Linked DNA regions of Homo sapiens: regions 2, 3 and 4 are each linked to region 1. Evidence: promoter capture Hi-C in human tissues and cell types (Jung and others, 2019). All regions are on one chromosome and are shown on one strand. Each heading gives the region's core, a stretch centred on a gene start or on the middle of the fragment in contact. The rest is flanking DNA. Distances are from core to core; before and after follow the strand shown.

Evidence for each region. The method cuts DNA at HindIII sites, captures the fragments that hold promoters and counts their contacts. A contact is called where the count stands out against the background at its distance.
Region 2: a contact is called between the fragment with the promoter of RSBN1 here and the fragment with the promoter of LRIG2 in region 1, in 1 of the 25 tissues and cell types used here (lymphoblastoid cells).
Region 3: a fragment that was not itself captured here is called in contact with the fragment with the promoter of LRIG2 in region 1 in 1 of the 25 tissues and cell types used here (aorta).
Region 4: a contact is called between a fragment that was not itself captured here and the fragment with the promoter of LRIG2 in region 1, in 1 of the 25 tissues and cell types used here (spleen).

The regions. Positions count from the first base shown.
Region 1 is chr1:113,071,635-113,075,131 of GRCh38, forward strand. It overlaps LRIG2 (leucine rich repeats and immunoglobulin like domains 2), which reads left to right and starts at 1,564. Exons shown (of 18, transcript NM_014813.3): 1 at 1,564-2,011. The coding sequence starts at 1,773. LRIG2-DT (LRIG2 divergent transcript) reads right to left here and starts at 1,468. Exons shown (of 3, transcript NR_103777.1): 1 at 1,305-1,468. RefSeq lists enhancers at 1,035-1,284, 1,343-1,876, 1,535-1,844, 1,877-2,408, 2,025-2,084 and 1 more. The HindIII fragment of the contact is 29,814 bases long and covers 1-3,497 here.
Region 2 is chr1:113,810,962-113,814,458 of GRCh38, forward strand. It overlaps RSBN1 (round spermatid basic protein 1), which reads right to left and starts at 1,515. Exons shown (of 7, transcript NM_018364.5): 1 at 749-1,515. The coding sequence starts at 1,451. It overlaps AP4B1-AS1 (AP4B1 antisense RNA 1), which reads left to right and starts at 1,651. Exons shown (of 5, transcript NR_125965.1): 1 at 1,651-1,864; 2 at 3,426-3,497. PTPN22 (protein tyrosine phosphatase non-receptor type 22) reads right to left here. Exons shown (of 21, transcript NM_015967.8): 21 at 2,850-3,497. RefSeq lists enhancers at 326-855, 580-639, 790-879, 856-1,385, 1,260-1,649 and 1 more. The HindIII fragment of the contact is 11,215 bases long and covers 1-3,497 here.
Region 3 is chr1:113,747,862-113,751,358 of GRCh38, forward strand. All of the region lies in intron 3 of PHTF1 (putative homeodomain transcription factor 1), which reads right to left. Among named protein-coding and RNA genes, the nearest start is that of PHTF1, 9.9 kb to the right of the region's middle. RefSeq lists a silencer at 1,566-1,860. The HindIII fragment of the contact is 3,903 bases long and covers 1-3,497 here.
Region 4 is chr1:113,690,317-113,693,813 of GRCh38, forward strand. No RefSeq gene overlaps it. Among named protein-coding and RNA genes, the nearest start is that of PHTF1, 67 kb to the right of the region's middle. The HindIII fragment of the contact is 3,895 bases long and covers 1-3,448 here.

The DNA of each region.
Region 1 (3,497 bases), core at 314-2,813:
TTAGCCGGGCATGGTGGTGCACACCTGTAGTCCCAGCTACTAGGCAGGCTGAGGCAGGAGAATCGCTTGAATACGGCAGGCAGAGATTGCAGTGAGCCACTTACTGCGGAGGATACAGGTTAGAGAGCATTAATTTCTAATGGCCCCATTTGGTATAGTTTCATAGGAAAGCTCTGAAACTATAATGTAGAAAGGAACTAAACTGCCTCCTTTTTTTTTTTGTAAGGTTCCTGCCTATGCCGGATTTCTTACCAGAGTTTGTTAAGTCTGCTCAACAGCTAAGGGAAGAAGGCTAAGAGTAAGTTTCATTCCGCTGTCTTGGCTTTAAAAGTTTGGTTTGGACTGTAGCATTGGATATGGCCTTGTTTCCAATATATACTTCAATATTAAAAAAAAAAAACAGAAAAAGGTTTTTAAAAACATAATTATGACTCCATAATCTGCCATGGGAAAGATTGCTTTCAGTTACTTTCTATGAGAACCCTAACCTAGGCATTATCATTCTTTTTAACCTGCTCAGATTTTCAATTTATGTCAGAAAACCCATGTTAATGTCGAACCTGCCCCTGCCTCAAGAGTAACTTGGTTTAACCTCTTGGGGCTTGTTGCATCATCAGCAATAATTGTCTTGCCAATGTCACAGTCACTGAAGGAGCAAACAAGATAACAGATGCAAACGCCCTTTGAAAAGTTCACTACGTATAAGTGAACCATCACTATTATTCTCAAAGTCTTATTTACAACCTTGGATGGCTGAATGAGCATAAGATGGCCAGACTTCACTGTTCCTAGTAAGTTTTCCATAGCCTCTGCTTTAGGAGAAATAAATTTCCTCACATCCAGTCTTTGCTTTGTTGACTGCTCAACACCCTCTTGTCTCGCTTGCTTTTCTGAGAGTGACCTTGACAGCATCCCTCCAAAGAGAAGGGTATTTCCTTTATATAGACATGCAGGTGCAGTCCCACCAAAATTTATTGAACTCCAAGCTAGAACAAAAGGTGGAGGTGCACCGATGAAGAAACAGGGCCTCTGCCTTCAGGAGCTTACAAGGCCATTAACAGAGAGTGATATTGATCTTATGCAAATGGCAGTTGCCGCCTACTTGCAGAAGAGCAGGGGCTACAGCCAAGCAGCAGGGGGCAGAAGAGGCTCGAGCTCGGCTCTGGAGGCCGATCTGGCCAAAGCCAGGATAGAAGCTCCCGTGACCCATTCGTGTGTGCGACTTGGAAGGCAGCCCTTCTGCCACTCCCCTTTCTTAAAGCCCAGAGCAAATAAAAGATCCTTTTCTACTACAGTAGATATACCTGTAGTCAGGACTTTGAACTCACAGCTATTCGCCGCACCATTCCCTCTTAAGGAACTACTGCGCCCTCCAGCGGAAGAACAGCGGCGGAACTCCACAGCGGCAGCTAAAATCCCTGAACGCTTTAAAGTCCTTCTCCTCAAGATACTCGGCTGCGTCTGGCCCCGCCCCTCACTGAGTTCCGCCCCGGGCGCAACCTCATCTTATGGCACCGATTGGCTGGCCCCTGTGCGTGAGGACGTTGCGCCGTGGGGAGGGGCGGACGAGAGGTGTCCGTCAGGCCGTGTGTCCCAGGCCGTCGACCCCGCTGTCGCGCTGCGTCTGCTCCTTGCATGCCTTTAGATGGTACAGCCTTCAGCCGGGGCTTCGGGAGACAGTGCAGCCACCGAGCATCTCTGCTGAGCTTCTCCGCCGATCCTCCTTTTCTAGCAGGCAGCTCTTCTAGGCCACGTCCAGGTCGAGGGGGAAAATGGCGCCGGCGCCCCTAGGCGTCCCGGAGGAGCAGTTGCTGGGGTGTCGATCTAGAGTGCTTTCTCGGTTACTCTTCATTGCCCAGACCGCTCTCCTCCTGTTGCCCGCCGCCGGAGCAGGTCTCTGCCCCGCGCCCTGCTCCTGCCGCATTCCTCTCCTGGACTGCAGTCGCAGGAAATTGCCCGCACCGAGCTGGAGGGCGCTGTCGGGCTTGCTGCCCCCCGACACCGCTATCCTGTGAGTAGAGCGGCCAGGCAGAGTGACCAAAAGGAGGGGGAGCCTTCCCTCTACAGGGGGCAGGCAGGAGGGAGACAGGCCTGGTCGGAGGGTGTGGTCGAGAGCCTAAGCTCTGAAGGAAACTGCCGTCAGGATTTTATGAACTTTGTTTTAGGTGGTGGGAGCCTAAAAAAGCCGGTGTTAAGGTTTCTGGAGAATTGTATGAAGACGAGGGTTAAGATTCTTGGGGCCAAGGAGTCTGTGATTTCCTCAACTGGGGAGGAAATGGGGCGGGCATATTTAATGGTAAGGACTCACGGGTCCTGGGCACCAGCATTGACTTTGGATGGTTGGTGGGGCGGGGGGTGGGTTGAGCACGGAACAGTGCTTTCTGCTTATCTTGAGCTGCATGATTTGGTGTGTACCTCAGACTTAGTGGTCCTCAGGCACGTGATTTTATAATCACAATCGCCAAAGACCTATGAACTGTCTTTAGTCCTTAGTTCGCATGTTGGCTGATTTTGTGCTGCAGTTTTGATACTTAACAGGGTTGAAAAGTTCATTATGATGAATCAGGAGATCCTGTAATTCAGAATATCTTTGTAAGTAGCATTCTTGATCTAATTTAAACTTCACTGTAAAGAGGAGGAGTATTTTTTGCAGAACCATTTGATGCTTTGTTTTCAGCGCATCTTCTTGTGGCAAAGAACCCAAAAATCAGTTCTGCTTATTTATGTAGGTAAAGCAGGTACAACGGTTGAATGAATTCTGGAGTTTCCACTGTTGAGTTTTCACTTTGACAGGTCTTTATTAGACAGTGGAACTTGGAGGGCTCCTTAGTCTGAGTCAGCCTGGTGGTATTAGGAACAACAGCAGGTATTAAATGCTGCAATTATGGGGCTTCTTAACCACTAACATACAGTTATTTCTCGTCACTAACTGAGCAGCACGTTTATTAACTGACAGATTTCTGATGGAGTCGTTAAGAAAGAGTCATCAATGGGCCAGGCGCGGTGGCTCACGCCTGTAATCCCAGCACTTTGGGAGGCCGAGGCGGGCCGATCACGAGGTCAAGAGATCGAGACCATCCTGGCCAACATGGTGAAACCCCGTCTCTACTAAAAATACAAAAAAATTAGCTGGGTGTGGTGGTGTGCGCCTGTAGTCCCAGCTACTCGGGAGGCTGAGGCAGGAGAATCGCTTGAACCCGGGAGGTGGAGGTTGCAGTGAGCTGAGATCACGCCACTGCACTCCAGCCTGAAAACAGAGCGAGACTCCGTCTGGGGGGAGGGAGGGTCGGGGAGGAAGAGGGGCCGGGTGCGGTGGCTCACGCTTGTAATCCCAGCACTCTGGGAGGCTGAGGCGGGCTGATCACCTAAGGTTGGGAGTTCGAGACCAACCTGACCAACATGGAGAAACCCCATCTCTACTAAAAATGCAAAGTTAGCTGGGTGTGGTGGCGCGTGCCTGTAATACTAGCTACACCCTGAGGCAGGAGAATCACTTG
Region 2 (3,497 bases), core at 265-2,764, 740 kb after region 1:
ATATTCTTGAGGGCTATTGGAATTAACAGATCCACAAAGTGTGCTAGACAGAATCAAATGCAACTGAAATTCCGGCCTCTACTATCTACTGCACAAATTCCCACTTTTCAGAGGCACTGTTGGTCCTATTTCCTAGTATCAAAGGGTAGAGAAAACCTTCCACATGCCTATTCTAAGAATTTAAATAGCTAATATGAAAACTTTAAAATGATTTTTACCTCTAGATTAAAAAGAACCAAGATAAACTGCGTCTGATATTTTACCTTGCAGAAGCTAAGTCAACCAGTGAGTCGTGTAACCTTTATATGAATTCCCTCCTGAAAGACTGGAACCATACCCCTGACTATTCTGGAGCAAGGGAGAGCAGATAACTAAAGCTCTCCAGCAAGCAAAACAAGGAGAAGGGATTTTAGGAACATGCCTTTTCTTTGGAAAGGCATTTTTTAGTACCCCACCTACTAATCTAACGCGGCGCGGAAACCTTGCAGAATTTGAAAACAAATGCTGAGAGGCTCCGGGGGACCGGTAAAGGGATTAGCAACTGACAGCTCGGCCTCGGAGCGAGAAGCCTCAAGTAGTTAGATCAAACCGTGTCAACGATCTGAAATCCAGGGTCCACCCCAGTGAGCTTAGAGAAGTACAGCAGCAGAAGGTAAGCAGGGGTTTGGCGTCTTTCAGTCCTAAAGATGCGGGATATCGGAACTGAGAGAGACCTAGAACCCAAGCCGGGCAGTTTGCCTGCTCTCACCTCTCTTGGGGGCTTTGATCAGAGGCACCCCTCCAGTCCTCTCGCCGTTTTCCTGCTTGTCCTTGTGCTTGAGATCGGTTCCGCAGGAGCTGGGATCACCATCGGGGCCGCGGTGGTGATGGTGCTTGTGCCGCTCCTTGTGGCCCTTATGCTTGGGCCCGGCCGCGCTCACCGTCAGAGGCGAGAAGGTGAAGAGGGCCGAGGTGCTTGGGGCCGGGAGAGGGGCAGCGACAGCGGGCCCGGCGGGTGCCAGCGAAGGTGGCGGCGGAGGCGGCAGGAGAAGAGGCTCAACAGGGCCTGGGACAGTTGGGGCTGCATTCGTTGGCGGCAGCGGCCCAGGATGTTGGCGGCTGCGACGCCGCCGGTGAGGGGGAGCGAGAGGGGGCTCCTGGCTCGGCCGCCCCCGCTTCTCCTGAGACCCCCCACTGCTAGATCGGCGCTGCCGTTTAACTCCCCGCGGGGAGACCCCAGCATGAGGTTTCTCCTTCCCCTCTTTGTCCGGCTCCTCCTGCGCCGCCACCGCCCGTACTACGCGCACCGCTCCGACCTGCGCAGCCATTTCACCCACAAACACACATTTAAATGGCCCGACCGCCCCCCCGTCCGCGCATCGCGCAAGCGCCGCCCGCGCACTGCCCGCTGGGCATTGGAGTCTCTCCTCCGCCCTCCACTTGTCGGCCGTTCTTCGTCCAGAGATGAACATGCCGGAAGCGGCCGTTCCCAGCTTTTCTCCGCAGGCCTCTCCAACCGAGCTTCTATTGTAAAGCACCCTATGCCGCGCAAAGCGTCATGGGAGCTGTAGTTCCGCCGCGCCCCCGCCGCGTCCCCGGCTCTGAGTGGAGGAGTGGAAAGGGAGCGTGCGCGAAGTCACGCTTCTGGCTGCGACGCAACCGCCGCTGGGCGGTGAGTTGCCGCCAACCGCCCTAACGGCCGAAACAATGTTAATGGCTTTCAGAGTCTGGCGGCGCGTTCCCATTATCATCTTCCTGTGACCCTTCCTCATTTTACACGGAGGAGGTGGTCTCCACAGTGATTTTAAATTTAATATTTCTCTCATAACCTTTGTGAGATAAAAGAATCTTCATCCTTTTAACTTTGACGAGGGATGAAATGAAGGTGAAAAGAGGATTTAGTAATATGTAAAATAAGGGTGGTTTTGCTGTAAAAATATGATAGGGCCGCAATTCAGAAATGTTTTCAAGCATCTGGGGCATTGCTATGGTTACAACTACAGGCCTACGAAGTCAGGTGCGAGAACTGCTTGGAGTCCTGGTGAGGACGGCCCCTCCTCGCCATCCGGCCACATCCCCTCTAATGCCTGGAAATGTCCAGCATTTATTTTGAATATATCCCTACAGTTGCGAAAAATTGTAGATGGAAAACCACGTTTAAGATTTTTTATAAGTTTTTTTTTTTCAAATCTTAAGGATAAGATTGCATAAATTTGAAAAGTGTGCCTACCGGAGAACACACCAAAAATCATCACTGCTCACTACGGATAGTTGTTGCTCAGAAATTCATTTAGAATTTCATCCTCGCTTTAGCTTTTACCTGGGGTTCTTTTAAGTATTTATTTAGAGACGGGCGGGGCGGGGCTCGGTGTCTCAGGCCGGTAATCCCAGAGCTTTGGGAGGCCGAGGCGGGAGGATTGCATGAGGCCAGGAGTTCCAGATCAGCGTTGGTAACATAGTGAGCCTCTGTCCCTACAAAAGTATTTTTTAAATTATCTGGGTGTCGTGACACGCGCCTGTAGTCCCAGGTACTCGTGAGGCTAAGGTGGGAGGAGTGGTCGCACCACTGCACTCTGGCCTGGGTGACAGATCTAGACCCTGACTCTTAAAAAAAAGAGACAAGGTCTCGCTCTGTTGACCAGGCTGGCCTCCAACTCCTGGGCTCAAGGAATGAGTAGCTGGGTCTACAGATGCACTCATGGTGCCCTAAGTAACTCATGGTTACCTAGAATTCTTTTAGTATATTTGTTTATTGATAAAGACATTTGGAAGTAATTGATTACAATGATATATACTCAGCAGATAAAATTACTGTGGTTTGATTTCACTAGTTTCTGGAGAAGTATTACCTAAACACTACTGCAATGAAGTCAGTTTAACAACCAAAAAGTTTATTGAGTGTCTGTTGGATACATTGTACTACAAGAGACAGATAATAATACTTCATTCAATTTGCCCTATTGGACTTCCAAATGAAAAATACTGAAGAACAAATGATGTTTAAACAATACTACATGTTTCTAAAAGTTATAAATAAAGTTATTTAAATAAAAATATTTTTAATGCATTAGGGGAAGTCAGGTGGATTCTTTGTAAAAACAATTACCTGCCAATTTATTTACTACATAAAATTAGAGTTGAACTAGATTTTCTTATGGCAGATCCATATTCATATAGAAATTCATTTTAAACTAGTATTTCTGATTGGTTAGATAAAAATTGCACATGATCTGAAAGATCCTGTATAAACATATACAATTTATATCTTTTGCTACCAAAAGATAGCTATTATATTTCATTGATTACTTTTCTAGAATTGGTAATTTAATGACTTTGGTTAAAACTTATCAGGATTTCAGTTGAATTCCTTGTTACATTCAAATAATTGTCATTATTTGCACATTTTATTCTAATAAATATAATTTCTCATTTTCTTAATATTCCAGTTTTCCACAACATTTGGGAAGATTTACAAGGTATACTCCATTTAGGCAAAAATAACTGTCAGGGAATAGTCA
Region 3 (3,497 bases), core at 423-2,922, 680 kb after region 1:
TCTACATGATCCGTTTTGATCCTTCACTCTACTCCATGCTTAACCCAAGCTCTAATTCTAAATGTTCTGAAATTTCATGATAATGTTTCTCAGTGCTGATGACTCAAAAGATCCTTTTATTTTCCTTTTTCTTTTGAGACAGAATCTCGCTTGTCGCCCAGGCTAGAGTGCAGTGTTGTATTCACGGCTCTCTGCACCTTTGAACTCCCAGGCTCAAAGGACCCTTTCACCTCAGCCGTCTGAGTAGCTGCGACTACAGGCACACACCACTACACCCAGCTGATTTTTAAATTTTATTGTAGAGATAGGATCTCACTTTGTTGCCCAGGCTGGTCTCAAACTCCTGAGTTCAAGGGATCCTCTTGCCTCAGCCTCCCAAAGTGCTAGGATTACAGGCGTGAGCCACCATGCCCAACGAAAAGATCCTTTTAATCTGGAAATACATACACAGTACTGCATTTCTGGGGCAATTTTTAAAATTATTTATTAATTTCTTCTTCTCCATGTATTTCCTTTTTCTGGAACATCTATTAGTTGGATATTACATTTCCTGCATGAATTGCACTCACTTTGCTATTTTCTTTTTTGTTGTTCATTTTTATACTACTTTTCTGGGAAATGGTCTCAAATTTATCTTCTAACTTTTCCACTGAATTTATTTTAATTTTTATTTATTTATGTGTTTATTTTTGAGACAGGGTCCCACTCTGTCACCCAGGCTGGAGTGCAGTGGTGCAATCACGGCTCACTGCAGCTTCGACTTCCCAGGCTCAGATGATCTCCCACCTCGGCCTCCTAAGTAGCTGGGACTACAGGCATGCAACGCCAAGCCCAGCTAATTTTTTTGTATTTTTTGTAAAGACAGGGTATCACCATGTTGCCCAAGCTAATCTTGAACTCCTGGGCTCAAGCGATCAGCCTCGGCCTCCCAAAGTGCTGAGATTACAGGCGTGAGCCACTGTACCCAGCCACCCCTGAATTTATTCTGATTATTTTTATTTTCTAGTCTTCTCACTTTCTAATCTATAGTCTATTTTTTAAGCATTCTTAATTTTTAAATTGACAGATAATATTCTATGTATTCAGTGTGTACAACATATTCTGAAGTGGATATACACTGTAGAATGACTAAATTAATATATACATTACCTCACATGGTTATTATTTGTGTGGTGAGAACACTTAATATCCACTCTCTTAGCATTTTTCAAGAATACAACATACTAACTATAGTCACCAATGTTATACAATAGATGTCCTGAAGATATCTCAGTCTTTTTATAGTATCCAGTTCTTTAAAGGTAGTAATTATATCTTTAAAAACACTGTTTTTATGATTCCTGCATTGCTTCTTTTCTCTTTTCTTCTTTTTCTTTAGGTCTTAAATATTTGATGATCTTTAATTATCCATTTATAATTAACAGTCACTAACACACTGAATGCAAGCTCAGTGTGCAATGCGTGAAGCATTTTGAATAGTGGACCTCACTATAGAGGCGTGGCCAGTCATTTCACTTTTCAGTATCCTTAGGTTCTCTTTGGTTACTCAGTTTTGACGAAAAGAAATTCCAGTCTTCTGTTTGCAGATTATAAATCTGACGACCAGACTTTCACTTAATCCCCATTATTAGTGCAGCATCTCACCAGACTCTGATTTGTTTCTGGTCTTCCAGAATCCAGAACTTCTCTGGCTCAGCCTCTCCAGAGAGCAAGCTTCAACCCGGTCTTCTGTCAGAGGAAGATAAGGGTAACTATGTGGCTACATGGAATAAGGAAGATCTGGGGGTAGATCTATTATCCCTTATACACATGTTCAAACAATCCTGTCTTTAGTTCTTTCTCACTCCTACAGATTATACCTGATACATCTAATTCCTGAGTCTTTCAGAAGTTAATTACAGGGGTTTTACTTGTTTCCTATTGGCTTTCCCTATTGCAGGCACTTAAGAGTTTTACTTCTTTCATTTTCCAACCTTCGAAATTGTATTGATAGCTCTCATTTACTGTAGTCTCTTCTTCCATTCTTTAAGTCCTTGCAGGCTGCCATGATTTTTTCTTATCTGTTGTACTTTTAAAGAGGTTTCAGGAGAGATTAGTGCATGTATTTGAACTACCATTTTTTGGGTTTTGTTTTGTTTTTGTTTTTTTTTCAGGACAGGGTCTTGCTCTGTCACCCCGTCTAGAGTGCAGTGGCACAATCATAGCACACCACAGCCTCAAACTCCTGGGCTCAGGCGATCCCCCCCAACCAGCTTCCCCAGTATCTGGGACTACAGGCACATGCCCACCACACCCAGCTAATTTTTTTATCTTTTTGTAGAGCTATGTTGCCCAGGCTGGTCCCAAACTCCCGGCCTCGAGCAAAAACCTCGGCTTCCCAGAGTGCTGGGATTATAGGCGTGAGCGACCACGCATGGCCTCAAACTGTCATCTTTAATGAGGAGTGTCAGTGTCATCTATCATATGGCCACCATCCTGCTTAAATAAAACATTATAAATACAGCTGAAGTAGTCTCTGTGCTTCTGATTAGCCTTTTTTATTCTCTAAATACAAAACCATGCTATCTTCAAACAGTGATTTTTGTTCACTCTAATATTAATTTTTAAAAATAAAACACACAAAAAAGAAAAGATAATATTAATTAATATTAATTAGAATGTTTTGCTCATCTTAGCAAATGTATCTCAAACAGTATGCTAAAGAGTAGTAAAAGGGGCCAGGCGTGGTGGCTCACGCCTGTAATCCCAGCACTTTGGGAGGCCAAGGCAGGCAGATCATGAAATCAAGAGATCGAGCCATCCTGGCCAACATGGTGAAACCCCACCTCTACCAAAAATACAAAAATTAGCTGGGCATGGTGGCGTGCGCCTGTAATCCCAGCCACTCGGGAGGCTGAGGCAGGAGAATCACTTGAACCTGGGAGGCGGAAGTTGCTGTGAGCACTGCACTCCAGCCTGGGCAACAGAGCAGGACTCTGTCTCCAAAAAAAAAAAAAAAAGATTAGTAAAAGGGGAGATTCTTATTTTAGGCTTATTTTGGAGGACTAAGTTACACTCCATCACTGAAAATAATATTAGACATTAGATTTAATATATTCTCTCAATTAAAAAATTTTAGGGCTGGGTGTGGTGGCTTACATCTGTAATCCCAGCACTTTGGGAGGCCAGGGAGGGAGAACTGCTTAAGCCCAGGAGTTCAAGACCAGCCTAGGCAATGTGGTGAGACCTTGTCTCTACAAAATATAAAATATTTTTTAAAAATTTAGAAAACAATTTTAATTGTGAATATGTATACATTTACATTTTTGGTGTACTATATTATGATTTTTCCTACTTTTACTATTGGTATAATTTTTAAAGTAGCTTTATTGAGGTATAATTTACATACTATTAAACTAAACTATTTTTACAGATTTAGTAAATAATTTAGATTTTTAGTAAATTTGTAGAGTTGTGCAATCATTATCACACTCAAGTTTTAGAACATTTCCATCACC
Region 4 (3,497 bases), core at 251-2,750, 620 kb after region 1:
AGGCACTGAAGGTGGGAGAACCATGAAATTACAGTTGATCCTTGAACAACATGGGTTTGAATGGTGTGGGTCCACTTATATACAGGCCTTTTTCTGTAAGTATATTGGAAAATTTTTTTGAGATTTGTGGCAATTTGAAAAAACAAACCATGTAGCCTAGAAATATAGAAAAATTAAAAAGTTATATAGATACTAGCCTATTTTATCATTTACTATAAAATACACACAAATCTATTATAAAAAGTTAAAATTTATAAAAACATACAAACAAACTGTACATGGCACCATTCACGGTTGAGAGAAATGTAAACAAAGATACAGTATTAAATCATAACTGCATAAAATTAACTGTAGTACATACTGAGCTACTATAATTATTTTGTAGTTACCTCCTGTTGCTATTGTGGTGAACTCAAGTGTCAAAAGATCTGTTTAAAACACCATGTGATGCTAATCATCTCTGTGTGAGCAGTTCATCTCTCCATAAACCGTGGATCACAGTAAAAAGTGATCCCTTGCGGTTCTTGCATATTTTTCATGGTTAGTGCAATACTGTAAACCTTGAGGACATAAAAACTGCAGGACCCATATGAAGCACCACCAGTCATAGAAGTGCTCCCAAGAAGCACAGAAGAGTCATGACATTACAAGAAAAAGTTGAGTTGCTTGATACCATAGATTGGGGTCTGTGGTTGCCCACCATTTCAAGATAAATGAGTCCAGCATAAGGACCATTGTAAAAGAAAGAAGGAAAGAGAAGAAAGAAGGACGGAAGGAAGGGAGGGAGGGAGGGAGGGAGGGAGGGAGGGAGGGAGGGAGGAAAGAAAAGAAAAACTCATGAAGCTTTTGCTGCAGTTATGCCACCAGGCATGAAAACCTTGCACTTTTTGTGAAATAGCTTTTAACTTGCATTTAAAATGCAGCTTCATGTGGGTATGGGAGTGCTCTAAGGCATATCTATAGATTCCAATGTGATTCAAGAAAAAGCAAAGTTATATGACAAAGCAAAAGGAAAGTAGATTTGCTGATGAAGAAGCAGCAGACGAGTTCACAGATGCCATTCAGAAGATAACTGAGAAGAAAAGATATCTGCCTTAACAGGTTTTTAATGCAGAAGAAAGTGCCTATTCTGGGAAATAATGCCACAAAGGAAATTTATTAGAAAGAGAAGCAAGCACCATGATTTAGGCAGGAAAGGATAAGCTAATACTGTGCAAATGCAGTTGTGTTTACGATCAGGACTACACATATCTGTAAACCTGCTAACCCCCAAGCCTTGAAGAAGAAGAAGAAAAAAAAACACCAGCTGACAGTCTTTTGGTTGTATACCAAGAAGTCCTAGACAATGAGAACCCTTTTTCTGGATTGGTTCTGTCAATGCTTTGTCCCTAAAGTCAGGAAGTACCTTGCTAGTAAGACACTACCTTTGAAAGTTCTTTTGATACTGGACAATGCCCCTGGCCACCTAAAACCCCATAAATTCAACACCAAAGCGATGAAGTGGTCTCTGTGCTCCCAAACACAACATCTTTAATTCAGGAATAAGGGGGTCATAAGGACTTTTTAGATCCATTACACACAGTACTCTGGAAAGGACTGTCAATACTGTGAAAGAGAACCCCAAGAGAGAACATTATGAAAGTCTGGAAGGAATGATTATGCCATGCCACTGAAAATGCCATCATTGTTACAGAAAAAGCTGTGAAAGCCAACAAGCCCAAAACAATAAATTCTGGCTGGAGAAACCTGTGCAGATGTTGTGCATAACTTCATAGGATTTACAAAAGAGTCAATCAAGGAAATCATGAAAGAGATTGTGGATGTGGCAAAAAAAGTGGGGTGTGAAGGGTTTCAAGAGAAATTCAGGAGCTAATAAACCCCACACCATAGGAATTAACAGATGACTTGTTGATGGAGACGAGTGCTTCCAAATCAGTGCAAGATGATGAGGAAGAAAACTTAGAAGCAATGCCAAAGAACAAGATGATGTAAGACAATCTGGCAGAAGGGTTCCAATTATTCAAGGCTGCTTTTGACTTCTTTTACAACATGGACTCTTCTATGATATGGACACTGAAACTAAAGCAAACAGTAGAAGAACGATTGGTACCATATAGAAACATTTTTAGAGAAATGAAAAAAGCAAAAAGTCCAATTACAATGTATTTCTGTAAAGTTAGATCAAGTGTGACTGCCTCTTGTGCTTCCCCTTCCACCTGTGCCACCCCTGACTCAGCAAGACCAACCGCTCCTCTTCCTCCTCAGTCTACTCAATGTGAAGATGACAAAGAGGAAGACTTTTATGATGATCCACTTCTCCTTAATGAATGGAAAATATGCTTTCTCTTTCTTAGGATTTTCTTTATAACATTTGTCTTTTGTCTAGCTCACTTTAAGAATACAGTATATAATACAAATAACATACAAAATGTGTTGATTGTTTGTGTTACTGGCAAGACTCCCAGTCAACTGTAAGCTATTAAGTTTTGGGGGCATCAGAGTTACACATGAATTTTTTACAGGAAAGGAGGATAGTGCCCCTAACCCCTGCATTGCTCAAGAATCAAATGTATGACCCTTCTATCCTAACAGAAAAAAAAACTACACAAATGGTAAATTACTTGAGGTCTATTCTTCATTCAACACATTTTTATTGAACACCTATTATATGTTCTGGGGACAAGAAGAAGTCTCTGCCTTCAAGGGACTTACACTGTAGCGGGAAAGGAAACGACAGACAGTCAAAAAATAAACACGATAAAATTGTGGTAAGTGCCATGAAGGAAATCAATAAGGCGATATAACTGATAATGGATAAAATGGGTAACTACTTTAACTAGGGTCATCAGAGAAGGCCCTCTAAGGAACTGACAGCTGACAGCTGAGAGATAAGCAGCAGCCAGCCAGAGATGAACCTAAGAAAATATATTCCAGGCAGATGAAACAAGCTTGCACAAGCCTGATATGAGAAAGAACCTGGAATAATAGAAGAGCAGAGGGAGGTCAGTGTGGTAGTGAGGTAAAGGAGTGAGGCTGTAAAGTAAAGGAGGTGAAGCTGGAAGGCAAGGTAAGCATGATAATGAAGGGCCTTGGAAGCCACCAAAGAGAAAGCTAGGAAAGGTTTAAGTAGGAACAATGTTAGTTTCCAAATTTTGAGGCTCATTCATGTGGCTATGAAAAACCAACTGTAGGAGACAAGAATGGAAACAGACCAGTGGGTCACACAGTAGTCCAAGTGAGAGTGAAGGAGGTTTAACCTAGTAGCTGTGGAAATGTAGAACTGGCATGACATGGTAGTAGATTAGATATGGAGCTTTCAGCCTGAGCAATTGGAGAAACTCATTTACTAAGGTAAGGAAGAGTTGTTTTACTCTTCAACTTACAAACAACTGAAAAACAATTTTAAAAATATGAAAAAAAATGGATTTTAGATATAGACACCAGGCAGCACAGGACAGTAGAATTAAACAAGGTGAGTCCCATGATTGCTCCAAGAT